Linked DNA regions of Homo sapiens: region 1 is linked to region 2. Evidence: promoter capture Hi-C in 16 types of primary human blood cells and fetal thymus (Javierre and others, 2016). All regions are on one chromosome and are shown on one strand. Each heading gives the region's core, a stretch centred on a gene start or on the middle of the fragment in contact. The rest is flanking DNA. Distances are from core to core; before and after follow the strand shown. Region 1 overlaps RPRD1B (regulation of nuclear pre-mRNA domain containing 1B). Region 2 holds the start of DHX35 (DEAH-box helicase 35).

The links. The method cuts DNA at HindIII sites, captures the fragments that hold promoters and counts their contacts. A CHiCAGO score of 5 or more calls a contact.
Region 1: a fragment that was not itself captured here is called in contact with the fragment with the promoter of DHX35 in region 2 in 1 of 17 cell types (activated CD4 T cells); the score reaches 5.7 in activated CD4 T cells.

What each region holds. Positions count from the first base shown.
Region 1 is chr20:38,038,206-38,044,517 of GRCh38, forward strand. RPRD1B (regulation of nuclear pre-mRNA domain containing 1B) reads left to right here. Exons shown (of 7, transcript NM_021215.4): 2 at 2,230-2,359. Among named protein-coding and RNA genes, the nearest start is that of RPRD1B, 7.6 kb to the left of the region's middle. The HindIII fragment of the contact is 403 bases long and covers 2,988-3,390 here.
Region 2 is chr20:38,959,471-38,965,919 of GRCh38, forward strand. It overlaps DHX35 (DEAH-box helicase 35), which reads left to right and starts at 2,874. Exons shown (of 22, transcript NM_021931.4): 1 at 2,874-2,937. The coding sequence starts at 2,898. RefSeq lists a silencer at 2,739-2,858 and an enhancer at 2,899-3,208. The HindIII fragment of the contact is 4,420 bases long and covers 1-3,891 here.

The DNA of each region.
Region 1 (6,312 bases), core at 1,939-4,438, 920 kb before region 2:
TATTTAATTTTATGAGCATTTAAGACATCAGTTTCATCAGTTTAAACTGTAATGTGCTATTAAAATCATGTTTTTAACTTGGGTTACTCTCCTGTAGCTACATTTTTTTTTTTTTTTTTGAGACGGAGTCTCTTACTCTGTCACCCAGGTGGGAGTGCAGTTGGCGCGATCTCGGCTCACTGCAACCTCCGCCTCCCAGGTTCAAGTGATTCGCCTGCCTCAGCCTCCCAAGTAGCTGGGTTTACAGGCGCCTGGCACCACGCCCGGCTGATTTTTTTTGTTTTGTTTTTTTTTTTTTTTTTTTTTTTTGAGACAGAGTCTTGCTCTGTCACCCAGACTGGAGTGCAGTGGTGTGATCTCGGCTCACTGCAAGCTCCGCCTCCTGGGCTCACCCCATTGTCCTGCCTCAGCCTCCTGAGTAGCTGGGACTACAGGCGCCCGCCACCACGCCTGGCTAATTTTTTGTATTTTTAGTAGAGACAAGGTTTCACCATGTTAGCCAGGATGGCCTTGATCTCGTGACCTCAGGTGATCCACCTGCCTTGGCCTCCCGGAGTGCTGGGATTACAGGCGTGAGCCACTGTGCCCAGCCTCCTGTAGCTACATTTTAAAATGTCAGATCTTATGCCTGCTATGTCAGACATATCAATGCTTTGTACATTTCAAAAGAAACAACTGGTTTCAGAGAGAAATAGAGTTACTCAGGTGTGTTAAGGTTGATAAAGAGCTTGTGTTTTTCAGGTACTTTAGCATTGGAGAAAACTTTGTGTTTTGAAACATCTAATTATGTTCTTATTTATTTCTTTTAAAAGAAAATTGGAACCAAAAATTGTAGGGATGTAACTTTATAGTTGAGAAATTATGTGCATAGAAGCCAGGGAATTCAGTAATGTTCCCCAAAGCAACTGTAACTCAGACATATTGCACGAGGTTTTTATGGTTTAATATATGATACCATATAGAGTAATAGGGAATAACCACATTTCATATAAATAAGAGAGAATTATGGTTTTTGTGAAAGCCCTAATTTTGCATATCTAGATTTCACACGTGTGTAAATTTTCAATAAGAGTGTAGTGTTAATGTATACTTGTATTTGAGCTAATATCTATTGGTGCACCTAGAGATTCTTCTATATTATTGATTATGGTTATTGGAGTATCAGAGAAATTCTCAGTTTAGGAGCAAAATTACAAGAAACCTTTTTTTTTTTTTTGAGACGGAGTTTTGCTCTTGTTGCCCAGGCTGGAGTGCAACAGCATGATCTAGGCTCACCACAACCTCTACCTCCCGGATTCAAGCGATTCTCCCACCTCAGCCTCCTGAGTAACTGGGATTACAGGCATGTGCCACCACGCCAGGCAAATTTTGTATTTTTAGTAGAGACGGGGTTTCTCCACGTTGGTCAGGCTGGTCTCAAACTCCCGACCTCAGGTGATCCGTCCATCTCGGCCTCCAAAAGTGCTGGGATGACAGGCATGAGCCACCACGCTCGGCGAAACCATTTTAAAATTGAAACCTAACTCAGTCTTTTTTTTTTTTTTTTGAGACAGAGTCTTGCTCTATTGCCCAAGCTGGAGTACAGTAGTGCAATCTCGGCTCACTGCAACCTCCACCTCCTGGGTTCAAGCGATTCTCCTGCCTCAGCCTCCTGAGTAGCTGGGACTACAGGTGCCCACCATCACACCCGGCTAATTTTTGTATCTTTAGTAGAGGTAGGGTTTCACCATGTTGGCCAGGCTGGTCTCAAACTCCTGACCTCAAATGATCCACCCACCTCGTCCTCCCAGAGTGCTGAGATTACAGGCATGAGCCACTGCGTCCGGCCAACTCAGTCTTTCATTCTGAAATATTTGATAATTAAAAGTGAGTTAGAAGTTGCTCATTTTTGCAGTAGAATAAATAAAAGCCCTAGTTTCAACATTAACACTGACTGCTTATCCTTTAGGAATTCTCTTTGGATTATCTTAATTTTTACTATCAATTAATTACCCTGGTTTAAACAACACAGCAATGAAGATGGCCCATTCTTTTTCTTTTTCTTTTTTTTTTTTCCGAAATGGTATTCCCAAACCTATTCCTTAGGTGGTCTTTTTAAACATATCTACTTGACCCCCCAGGTAGATAATACTTGTCTTAATGTTTTTTTAGGAGCAGCCCAGGGCAAAAGAATTGTGAATTGAGAATTTCTTTGGTGTAAGTTAAATTCTTTTCTTTTCTTTTTTTCAGCCAAATCAAATAGAAAGCTTACTTTTCTGTATTTAGCGAATGATGTCATCCAAAACAGTAAAAGGAAAGGACCTGAATTCACTAGAGAATTTGAATCTGTCCTTGTGGATGCTTTTTCTCATGTTGCCAGGTATGTTGTCTGTTTTTTGGATTTGTTTTTAAATTCATTGCCTTTCCCACCTTTTTGTTCTTTCCTTTTCTGTGATAGCCTTTGTAAATTGACAACTTCCTACTTTACAGAGAGTTGTGGAGGCCGAATTGTGGTTTTATGTTTTGTTGAGCCCTCAAGAACTATCGAGACATGTAAACATTCTGATACATTTGAGAGATTCAGCCTAGCATTATCTTTCTTCTAGATATATTCATTTTCATTTTTTGAATTTATTTCTTGGTTATGGTATTTTCCTTGGTTTGGTTGAGTTGTCTCATCAGCTTATGATCAAAAAACAAAGCTAACTAGTAAGGGAACCTTTTAGTAACATAACTTAATAGCAAGAAATTAATTGCCAAATGCCTTCCTTTTTATTTCCTTCTGGATTTCTAGATGTCTAGTTTACTAAAAATAGTAGGCATTACTGTAACTGCAATAATAGTAATTATTAGTGTAGAAAGTAGGTGTTTGCTCTGGCTATATTGTATTAAGCCTGGTGCTGTTGTGTTTTGTGGCAGAGAGGAGTGGCACTCATACAACTAATACCATAGAAAGCATACATTGGATTAAAAGTTTTATAAATTACTTTACTTCATGTAAAAACAAAAGCTTTCTGTGGGCTTAAATTAGGTGCCCAGGAAAAGCAAAGAAAAACTATCGTTCATTAGAATATTATGTTTATAAGTAAATATATAAACAGATATTTGCAAAAGGAATTGGGAAACATGAATGGGAGACTAGTAGGTTAAACATAAATTGTTACTAGGTCTAAAATATAGTGAAAGGCCTTAAATGAGAAATGAAGTCCTGCTTTCATTGCAGGATTTGAAAAGTTTGAAGGAATAAAATTAGAAATCCAAGAGAAAGAAATGACACCTAGCTTTCTAGAGATGAAAAAGATGGTTTTTGTGGATAAGTTACATAACTGGCTCACCTTTTGATCAACATGGGCGCAAGTAGCAAAATGTGTTATTAACTTGAAAAAAATACTGAATCTTCATAACAGAGTAAGCTTAGAACAGACTACTAGAGGAGCTATCTGAAATAGACAGATTTTCTTGCTTTGATGAGATTTAGTTCACAGTTGCTTAGAAATTGATGGTAGCTCTGCCTCAGACACTATGTGAGTGACCTTGGATGTGTTACTTAACTTTTTGAGCCCAAATTTCCTAACTGGCTAAAGGGGGAGGATACCACTCCCCCTCATAAGAGTTGTGAGGGTAAAGACAGACAATATGTTTAAAAGTATGTAGTACAATGCCTGTTCCACATTTGCTCATTCATTGGATCATTTGTTTTTTCCTATATTCCAGGCACCTAGTAAAGTGTCTGGCACAGAGCTGCTGAGTTATGTAGCTTGAAGGAATACCATTTATATAGCCTCCATGTAAGTGGTGTCCCAGGAGCTGGGCAACATTATGGTCTGCCCTGACACAGTAGGCGTTCAGTAAATATTTGTTAAATGAGTTAATTAATGTTAACTCATTATGGAAGAGATTTGGTCTAGGGAGTTGGCTGGAATGATTTCTTGTAGGGATAGTAAACATAACAGTGTTATTAAAAAATTCCAGCCTGGGCAGCATAGTGAGACCCTGTGTCTACAAAAAATTTTTTAAAAATTAGCCAGGCATGGTGGTGTGCACCTGTAGTCCTAGCTACTTGGGAGGCTGAGGCAGGGGGATTGCTTGAGCCCAGGAGTTCAAAGCTGTAGTGAGCTATAATCATACCACTGCACTCCAGGTTTAGCAACAGAGCATGACCCTGTCTCTAAATTACAAACAGACAAACGATCTGTAATCTTTAGCTGTCCTGAAACCAAAAAGTAAATAGAAAGGGGTGGAAAAGGGGGTGGGCAACACCAGGGTTAAAAATTCCTTTTTTCTTGGGAACACCTTAAAAACTAGCCAGGTTTTAGGTGTCTTGGCAGATTCAGTGGCAGTGTGAGGAAGATAAACCTGGTCCTTCTCAATAAAATAGCCCGAATTCCTTTCTGTTTGCATTCTGGTTCTTTTAAGATTCTGCTTGGGTATTACATTCAGGATACCCATGTTTCCAATCTCCTTTCTTATACCCCATTATTGGGACAGAAAGTCCAACAGTTCTGCTTCAACCGTGATGCAGCTCGTCCACAGTAGGAGTAGCCTAATTAACATATACTTTCTGTGTGCTTTTTCTGTGGTCAGTTGATGAACAAAGATAGTTGACCCATTACTGTTGACTAAATTGATGAGGGATATTTTTATGATAAAAGACACCTCCACACCCAAAACAAACAAACAGTAAAAAAAACTCTCAAGTCAGAGAAAGCTGCCAAGTTCATAGGATAGATTTGATTTGAATAGCAGTTTAATTAACCAGACTGCAAACTTGCTTTTCATACAAGTGCCTTGTTTTCTTCCCAGTGAGGAGACAGCTGTCCATGTCATTTTTCATTCAACATGTATTGGAGTGCCTTCTATGTGCCAAGTATGGATCCAGACACGGGGGGAGCAGCAGTGAACAAGGCAGGCAAAGACAATTAAATGAGCAAGATACTTTCAGAGCAGGACAATATGGACATAGTAAAATGGAGTGATGTTCTAGAGTAGGATCTCACAGGTAGTGTGGTTCAGGAAGGCCTCTAAGGAAATGACATTTGCGGTAATCATGCGAAGCGGGAGCAGCTATTAAGAAAAACTTAAGGCAGAGATCATCTTGGCCTTCTAAGAGAAACAGAATGAAGGCTGGTGTGGTTAGAATATAGTGCACAAAGGGAAAAGTGATATCCAGATGAGGTCCGAGAGGTGGACATGCAGCAGTCACATACACCCTGTAAGTCTTGGAAGTTAGGATTTTTTTCTCATGGGATGTCATTGAAGAGTTTTAACCAGGGGAATGATATATTCCAATATATTCCAACATACATTTTTAAAACATCCCTCTTTAAAAATGGCTTAGTGTAGAGGGATGGATTGTAAAGGCCAAGGGAGGGGCGGGGACATGAGTTTGGAGGATATTGCTGTGATGCAGGCTAGAGGTGACATTGCCTAGGACTCAGAAGCAATGGGAAGATACTAATAGCTTCCATTTATTGAGTGCTTCCTTCGTGGGAGGATCCCCACCTCTCCAGTGTAAAACTGATAGGATTTATAGGCGTTGAGTGGGAGCTGGTAGTAAGTGAAAAGAGAAATCAAAGACGATTTCTAGGTTTTTGATGTAAGGAATGACTGATGGTGCCCTTTACTGAAGTGAAGATTGGGGAAAAGATTTGGTGGAGGAAATCACGAGTTTTGTTTTGGCCAGGCCGAGTGTGAGGTGGCTAGTGAATATTCCAAGGAGTGATGCCAAATAGGCAGGTGGATAAAATAGTCTGAAGCTCAGTAGAGACTTGATTTCTGGAGACATAAATTTGAGAGTTACCCACATGATATTTACTTATTGTTGTGGGCCCCAAGACCACTCCCAGGTTTGGTGATTCCCTAGAATGACTCACAGGGCTCATCATGTAGTCATAGTCATGGCAGTGATTCATTACAGCTAAAGGATCCAAAGCAGCAGCAGCAGCAGAGGGTGATGTGCATGCAGTACCCGCAGCAGACTGGAGCGCTCTGGGTATAAGCTTCCGAGTCCTCTCTCAGTGTTATTCCACAAACACGCTTAATTCCTCTAGCACTGAGTTGTGATGTGTATGATGTGTAACCTACCAGGAAAGCTCATTAAAGACTCTGTGCCCAGAGTTTTTATTGGATTGGTCATGTAGACACCCTCTGCCAAAATTCTAAGCTCCCAGAAATAAATCAGGTGTTCATTTTTTTTTTTTTTTTTTTGAGACGGAGTCTCACTCTGTCGCCCAGGCTGGAGTGCAGTGGCTTGGTCTTGGCTCACTGCAAGCTCCGCCTCTCGGGTTCATGCCATTCTCCTGCCTCAGCCTCCCAAGTAGCTGGGACTACAGG
Region 2 (6,449 bases), core at 1,624-4,123:
GTATGGTCTCCTCCAGCTTTAAGATTATGATCCATGAGACCAGCCTGACCAACATGGGGAAACTGTCTCTACTAAAAATACAAAAATTAGCCGGGCATGGTGGCGTGTGCCTGTAGTCCCAGCTACTAGGGAGGCTGAGGCAGGAGAATCGCTTGAGCCCGGTGGGTGGAGGTTGCAGTGAGATGAGATCTCGCCATTGCTTGCCAGCCTGGGCGACAGAGCAAGACTCCATCTAAAAAAGAAAAAAGATTATGATCCAATAATACAGGCATGGCCGATTTACTGTCTCTTCATAAACAGGAAGGTTTCATTATATGAGTAATAGATAAAATAGATAAGTTATTTTATTTATTTTTTTTTCTATTTTTTGAGATAGAGTCTCACTCTGTCGCCCAGGCTGGAGTGCAGTGGCGGATCTCTGCTCATTGCAACCTCTGCCTTCCGGGTTCAAGGGATTCTCCTGCCTCACCTTCCCAACTGGCTGGGATTACAGGTGACTACTACCACACCCGGCTAATTTTTTTGTATTTTTAGTAGAGACAGAATTTCGCCATGTTGGCCAGGCTGGTCTCGAACTCTTACCTCAGTTGATCTGCCTGCCTCAGTCTCCCAAAGTGCTGGGATTACAGGTGTGAGCCACCGTGCCAGGCCATGAAATAATCTTAAAAGTGGCATTTATTTCATTTTGCCTTATATTCATGTATAAACCTTGGTTTCCGTATTTGGGCTGTTAGTAAAATAAGACAAAAATAAAACAAGGAAAAATCAATGTCATGAAGAACTAAAACTAAGCCTAAAGCATGATGTTTATCTGTATATTACTCAATAGGCACTGCTACTGGGCTACGAATGTGAATGTGCCATGGTCCTCGTCCTCAGTAAGTTCCCTGTGTAATAGTGGCGGCAGGTAAACCACAGATCAACTAAAACTAAGCCTAAAGCATGATGTTTATCTATACATTACTCAATAGGCACTGTTATTGGGCTACGAATGTGAATGTGAATGTGAATGCTGACATGGTCCTTGTCTTCAGTAAGTTCCCTGTGTAATAGTGGCGGCAGGTAAACTACAGATCAACTAAAACTAAGCCTAAAGCATGATGTTTATCTACACTCAATAGGCACTTGTTACTGGGCTACGAATGTGAATGTGACATGGTCCTCGTCCTCAGTAAGTTCCCTGTGTAATAGTGGCGGCAGGTAAACTACAGATCAACTAAAACTAAGCCTAAAGCATGATGTTTATCTACACTCAATAGGCACTTGTTACTGGGCCACGAATGTGAATGTGACATGGTCCTCGTCCTCAGTAAGTTCCCTGTGTAATAGTGGCGGCAGGTAAACTACAGGCAACTAAACTACAGGTCACTTTTCTCACAAAAGTGAGAATACAGTTCCTAGACTACAAGGGGGAATGTTTAAGTTGGATAGATAATTTAGAGCTAGCCCTTTAAGGGATAAAGATAATTTAAAGGATGGATGGAGAATTCTAGGCCGAGGGACTAACAGATATTGAGTCCCTACATTAATTACTATAAAAATAAATCAAAGAAGATTCTTACATGAACCTATGCAGGTAAATTCAGATTTTTTTCCCCCTGGTGGATTTGCTCTGAGTTGAGGTAATGAGAGCTAACATTGATTCAGTGCCTGCTATGTTTTGCACTGTTAGGTACTTTACATGTTATCTCATGTAATACCTCTTTAAACCTCATTTTACAACTAAAATTAAATGACAGCTAGGAGCTAGGAAATGGCAAAGTTACGATTCCAAGTCTGGACTGGTTGTCCACAAAAGCCCCTGCTCTTGCCATAATGATGCCACTTCTTTCAAAGAATTCAGAATTTTCTTCACAGCTTTAAAAATGCATAGATTCTGAAGCCTCTCACTTCCTTCCAATTAGTTGCCTACCTAGAAAGTTATTTCCTCCACTTGAGCTCATCACCCCTTCTTAGCGCTCCTTTGGATTACTGTAATTTCTTTTTCTTTGACCTCACCTTTCGTCTGATGGATTAGTGTAATCTTTCCCAAATTTGTTAATCTGAAGAATTCAGGAGCTTCTCAAAATGCAGGTTCCCAAGCCATGCTCCAGGACATCGATTCAGAATTGGATCAAGGCCTAGAATCTGTGTTTTTAACAAGCATTTGACTCAAGGGTATCAAATTGGAGGAAGCACTGAGTTGGTGGACTACCTTAATTGATCTACCCATTTTCAGTCTCTTCTGCCAACCCATTCGCTCCACCCCACCCCCAGTCCGTTTTTCCGTTTTGCCCTCAAGGTCCCTGAAGACTTCCATATCATTTCGCATTGTTTTATTTGGGGCACTGTGCCGCACTACCTGGGCCCACAGCAGGCGCGCAATATTTACTGACAAATACAACCCACGAGGTAGTTCCTATTATTACCCTTCAATTTGAAATTGAGAATAAAACAGAAGTCGACAAGTTGAGGTAGCTTGTGACATCAGTATTTCGTATTTAATCCAGAAAGCACTGCTTCAACGCCCAGTGCGTGCAAGGTTCCACTCTCGGGCCAGCGGTCCTCTCCCAAAGCCCGTTCTTCCTAAGTGTGCGGCCGCCATCCAGGACACGCCACGCTCGTAAAAGGTCACCTGAAGCATCTACCCTCCACGCTCAAGAGGTAGGCGGAGGAGCGCGCCCTTTTCTCCAAAATGGCTGAGCAGGGTCACGTGGGCTCGGGGGCGGGGCCGGTGCGCTCGCCGGAGCCTGGAAGTGGGTCACGTGGCTCAGACGGGGGCGGTAGCTGTGGGGGCGTGGCCGTCACACGGCGCGATCCGTCTGGGCAGCGGCTCTTCGGGGGCCACGCCCTCCGGGCCCTGGGGGCCTAGCGCGCGACGGTGGGGTGGAGCTAGCCTCGTGACCTTTTACCCCAACATGGCTGCGCCCGTGGGACCGGTGAAGTTCTGGCGACCCGGTAAGGCCCTTGGTGGAACGCTGGGCAGATGCGGCGGCCTGACTTCGGTCTTGGCGCCGCGGCCGGCGCCCTGGGGCCAGCAGACCTGCTCGCAGGCCTGACCTCGGCGAGCTGGGCGCTGCCGCCTCTGTGCGGGGGGAGCTCTGGCTCAGGCTCCCCAGTGGTCCCGAGGGATTTGGGGGTGCTCCCCTAGCGTGAGCAGAAACTCTTTGTGACCTTGTTAAAGTGGTCCAGCCTCCTCAGGCCTCGTCTTCCTCGTTACTGATGCTTGTCCTGCCCACCCCGCGAGATGGGGAATCCTAAAGCTCCCTCTCGTGTCTCGTTAGCGCCCTGGGGTTGCGCTGTGGCCCGACAGACAATGCTGCTCGCTGCTGGAGGCTTGCAAGCCCAAGTTATGGAGTCAGACTGTCCGGGTTCGAATTTTCGTCTCTGCCTTGTAGTAGGGTGACCTTGGGCGAGTCACTTAATGCCTCTGAGCCATGACTTCTTTACCTGTAAAGTGGGCAGAACAATAGCTTCTATGCTGTGGGCTTAAATGACAAGCAGAACGCGTTGTCAGACTTAGAATAAATGCTCAAAAAAAGGGAAAGTGTGTTATTTTCTTTTAGGATAATTGTTGTCCACTCCGAATGTCTACTAGAAAAGGGAACAGTCCTTCATATTGGCTGCCAGCCACTTCCTCTCTTACAGACTAACACGAATCACAATCACAAAATGCTTTACTTGTTTTGTCTTGATATTTACTCATTAATCAGGTTTTTACTGAATGTGCATATGCCAGACCGTACTAGATGCATTACTTCCTCTCTGCAAACAGTTTCTTGTAAAAAACAAAAGTTTTTAAATTACAGCTACCAGCTTGATTTTTTTCTACCACCTGCACCCCTGCAGGTCTGGATGTGCAAAGTATATTGCAGCAAAAATGAAATGACACCAAGAATGTAATATAAGCAAAGCTTTTAATTTTTCAGTGGTTCTCTGAAATTCTGACCATGCATATAAGTGATGTGAGAGATAAACCCAAGCAAGAGATATGTTTAATGCTTTTTAAAAATTTGTAGTCTGTCACTTGACAGTTTTATGGTTCAGCATTTCAAGTCATCAGCCAATTATCCATCCTGAGTTTTATTTGCATCCAAAACTAGGAACTTACTAAGTAATGAATACTTTTAATTTATTCACGCTTTTAGTAACAGGTGAAAGTGTTAGGTATAATAAAGAGCTGAATTAATTGTTTGAAATCAGACCAGGGTACTATTTTGGTTAAAGAACGTGGAATTACTCTTAAGAGTTCTATTTCATTATTTAGTTCATCCATTGAGGGTACACTTATTGAAAACCTAATCCTGTGTTCAGGAGACAAATACAGATGCTCAGGGCTCTGCTCTCAAGTTACTGTCTCTCTCTTAATTGAATATAAAGTTAGATGTCCTCTAGAAGAGATTTTACAATGAGACAGAGTAAGGTGGTGGTAAAGAAGATGAGCTCTAGAGTCAGACTGCAGTGCCCATCATGTCTACCACTTACTAAGTTGATGACTTGATAGTCACTTAAATTCTCAAAGTCTCAGTTACTCCATCTGTAAATTGGGTATAATACCTACCCTACCCAAAGTAGTGTTGTGAGGTTTAAATGAGAATAACACACAACAGGATCTTGGCACTAGATAGGTTACTATTATAATTATATGGAAGTATGGAAGAGGGAGGGAAAGTTGAATGTATGGATAAGAAATACTTCATTAAGGTGGTATTTTTGGAGTGAACATTAAAGGATGAATAAGGTTTTGTTTCATAGAGAAATGGAACTCGAAGCAAAGGGTGCAGCATGAACAAAGGCAGAATGGGATTTGTGCCTTTAGAATGTCCAGAAAGCCAAAATAACAGAGCAGTGTGATAGTGTTAAGTGCTAGGGTATATTTTGGGGTATGACAGGAGATGAAGCTAGAAAAGTAGGTAAGGGCCTCATTGTGAAAGGTCTTCATGACAAGTTAAAAAGTTTAGACTTCACTGTTTTTTTGTTTTCTTTCTTTTTTTTTTTTGAGATGGAGTCTGGCTCAGCCGCCCAGGCTGGAGTGCAGTGGCGCAATCTCGGCTCACTGGAACTTCCACCTCCCAGGTTCAAGCGATTCTCCTGCCTCAGCCTCCTGAGTAGCTGGGACTACAGGTGTGTGCCACCACACCTAGCTAATTTTTGTATTTTTAGTAGAGATGGAGTTTCAGCATGGTGGCCAGGATGATCTCAATCTTTTGATCCCGTGATCTGCCCACCTCGGCCTCCCAAAGTGTTGGGATTACAGGCGTGAGCCACTGGGCCTGGCCTGACTTCAGTGTTTTTAAGCAGGAACAAATCAGGTTTACTTTAGAAAGATAACACTGGCAGTGGAGTAGAGAGTGGATGGAGGAGGAAATTAGAGAAGGTACTAGTGAAATCCAGGAGGGATGTTAAAAACCTTAATTCTGACCTGGGAGCTTAGAGGAGGTGCCTGTTGGAGAGACATTTTAGAGGAAGATGTGGGAGAAGATGAAGTCAGTAATAACTCAGATTTCTGGGCTGGGTGACTGTCTAGGTTAGTGATTCTCTAATTTTGCTTTATAGTTGAATCACTTGGGAAGCTCTGAAAAGTCCTGATGTGCACTTGCACCTCACACCAATAAATTAGAACTTTGGAGGCCTAGGAGCCAGGCATCAGTGTTTTTTAAAGTCTCTAAGGAATTCCAGCATGCATCAAAATTTGGGAACCACTGGTCTAGGTAAATTGTGTTGTCATTAGTTGACATGGGAATAGCTTTAGTACACAGTTATTGGGCCGTTGCTTTGTGTTAGTCACTTTCATTTACACATCTTATTAAACAGTCACAGTATCTCTGTGATGACAGTAATACTCTTATTTTAGTGAGGAAATTCAAGATATGAAGTAGGTTGTGGGAAATGCAAGGTGAAAGTCAGGGAAGCTGATATAAGGCTAGACATTCAAATCATGAACATATCCTGTAGGCCTGAGCCTGTGATTACAGAGGTCTTTCAGACAGTCTAAGTGAGTGAAGTTGCTTACTGGAGGTAATAGGGAGTGGTGGGGACTGTGGCAGAGTGTGCATACACTGGATAGTATGTACAGTGGAGATCTACAGTAGAGCTTACATATGCTTTCTAAAATAGGGAGTTGTACTCAGGTCCACCTAATTGTTATCATATGGGTTCAGAGTTGCCCAATTTTTTTTTTAAGAAGCCTAATATCCAGATCTGAATGGGAAAATTTTATGTGTTGTTTTAAATGAATGATTTAAAACATTTTAACAATAGCATGTCTGGGTACCTTAAGATACCCATTTGTGGTGTCTACCTTAGGAGTGTGACTTAAGGGCCTTGTATGACCTGCCTGAGAGTTTTCTACAAAAATCTTTTACTTAATTTGCAAGTACACGTGGATCCGAAGGGCCTGCCCATTTTCGTTTGCTCATTTGATAAATATTTCATGATTGTTGACCATGTGCATGACGAAAACTTTACAA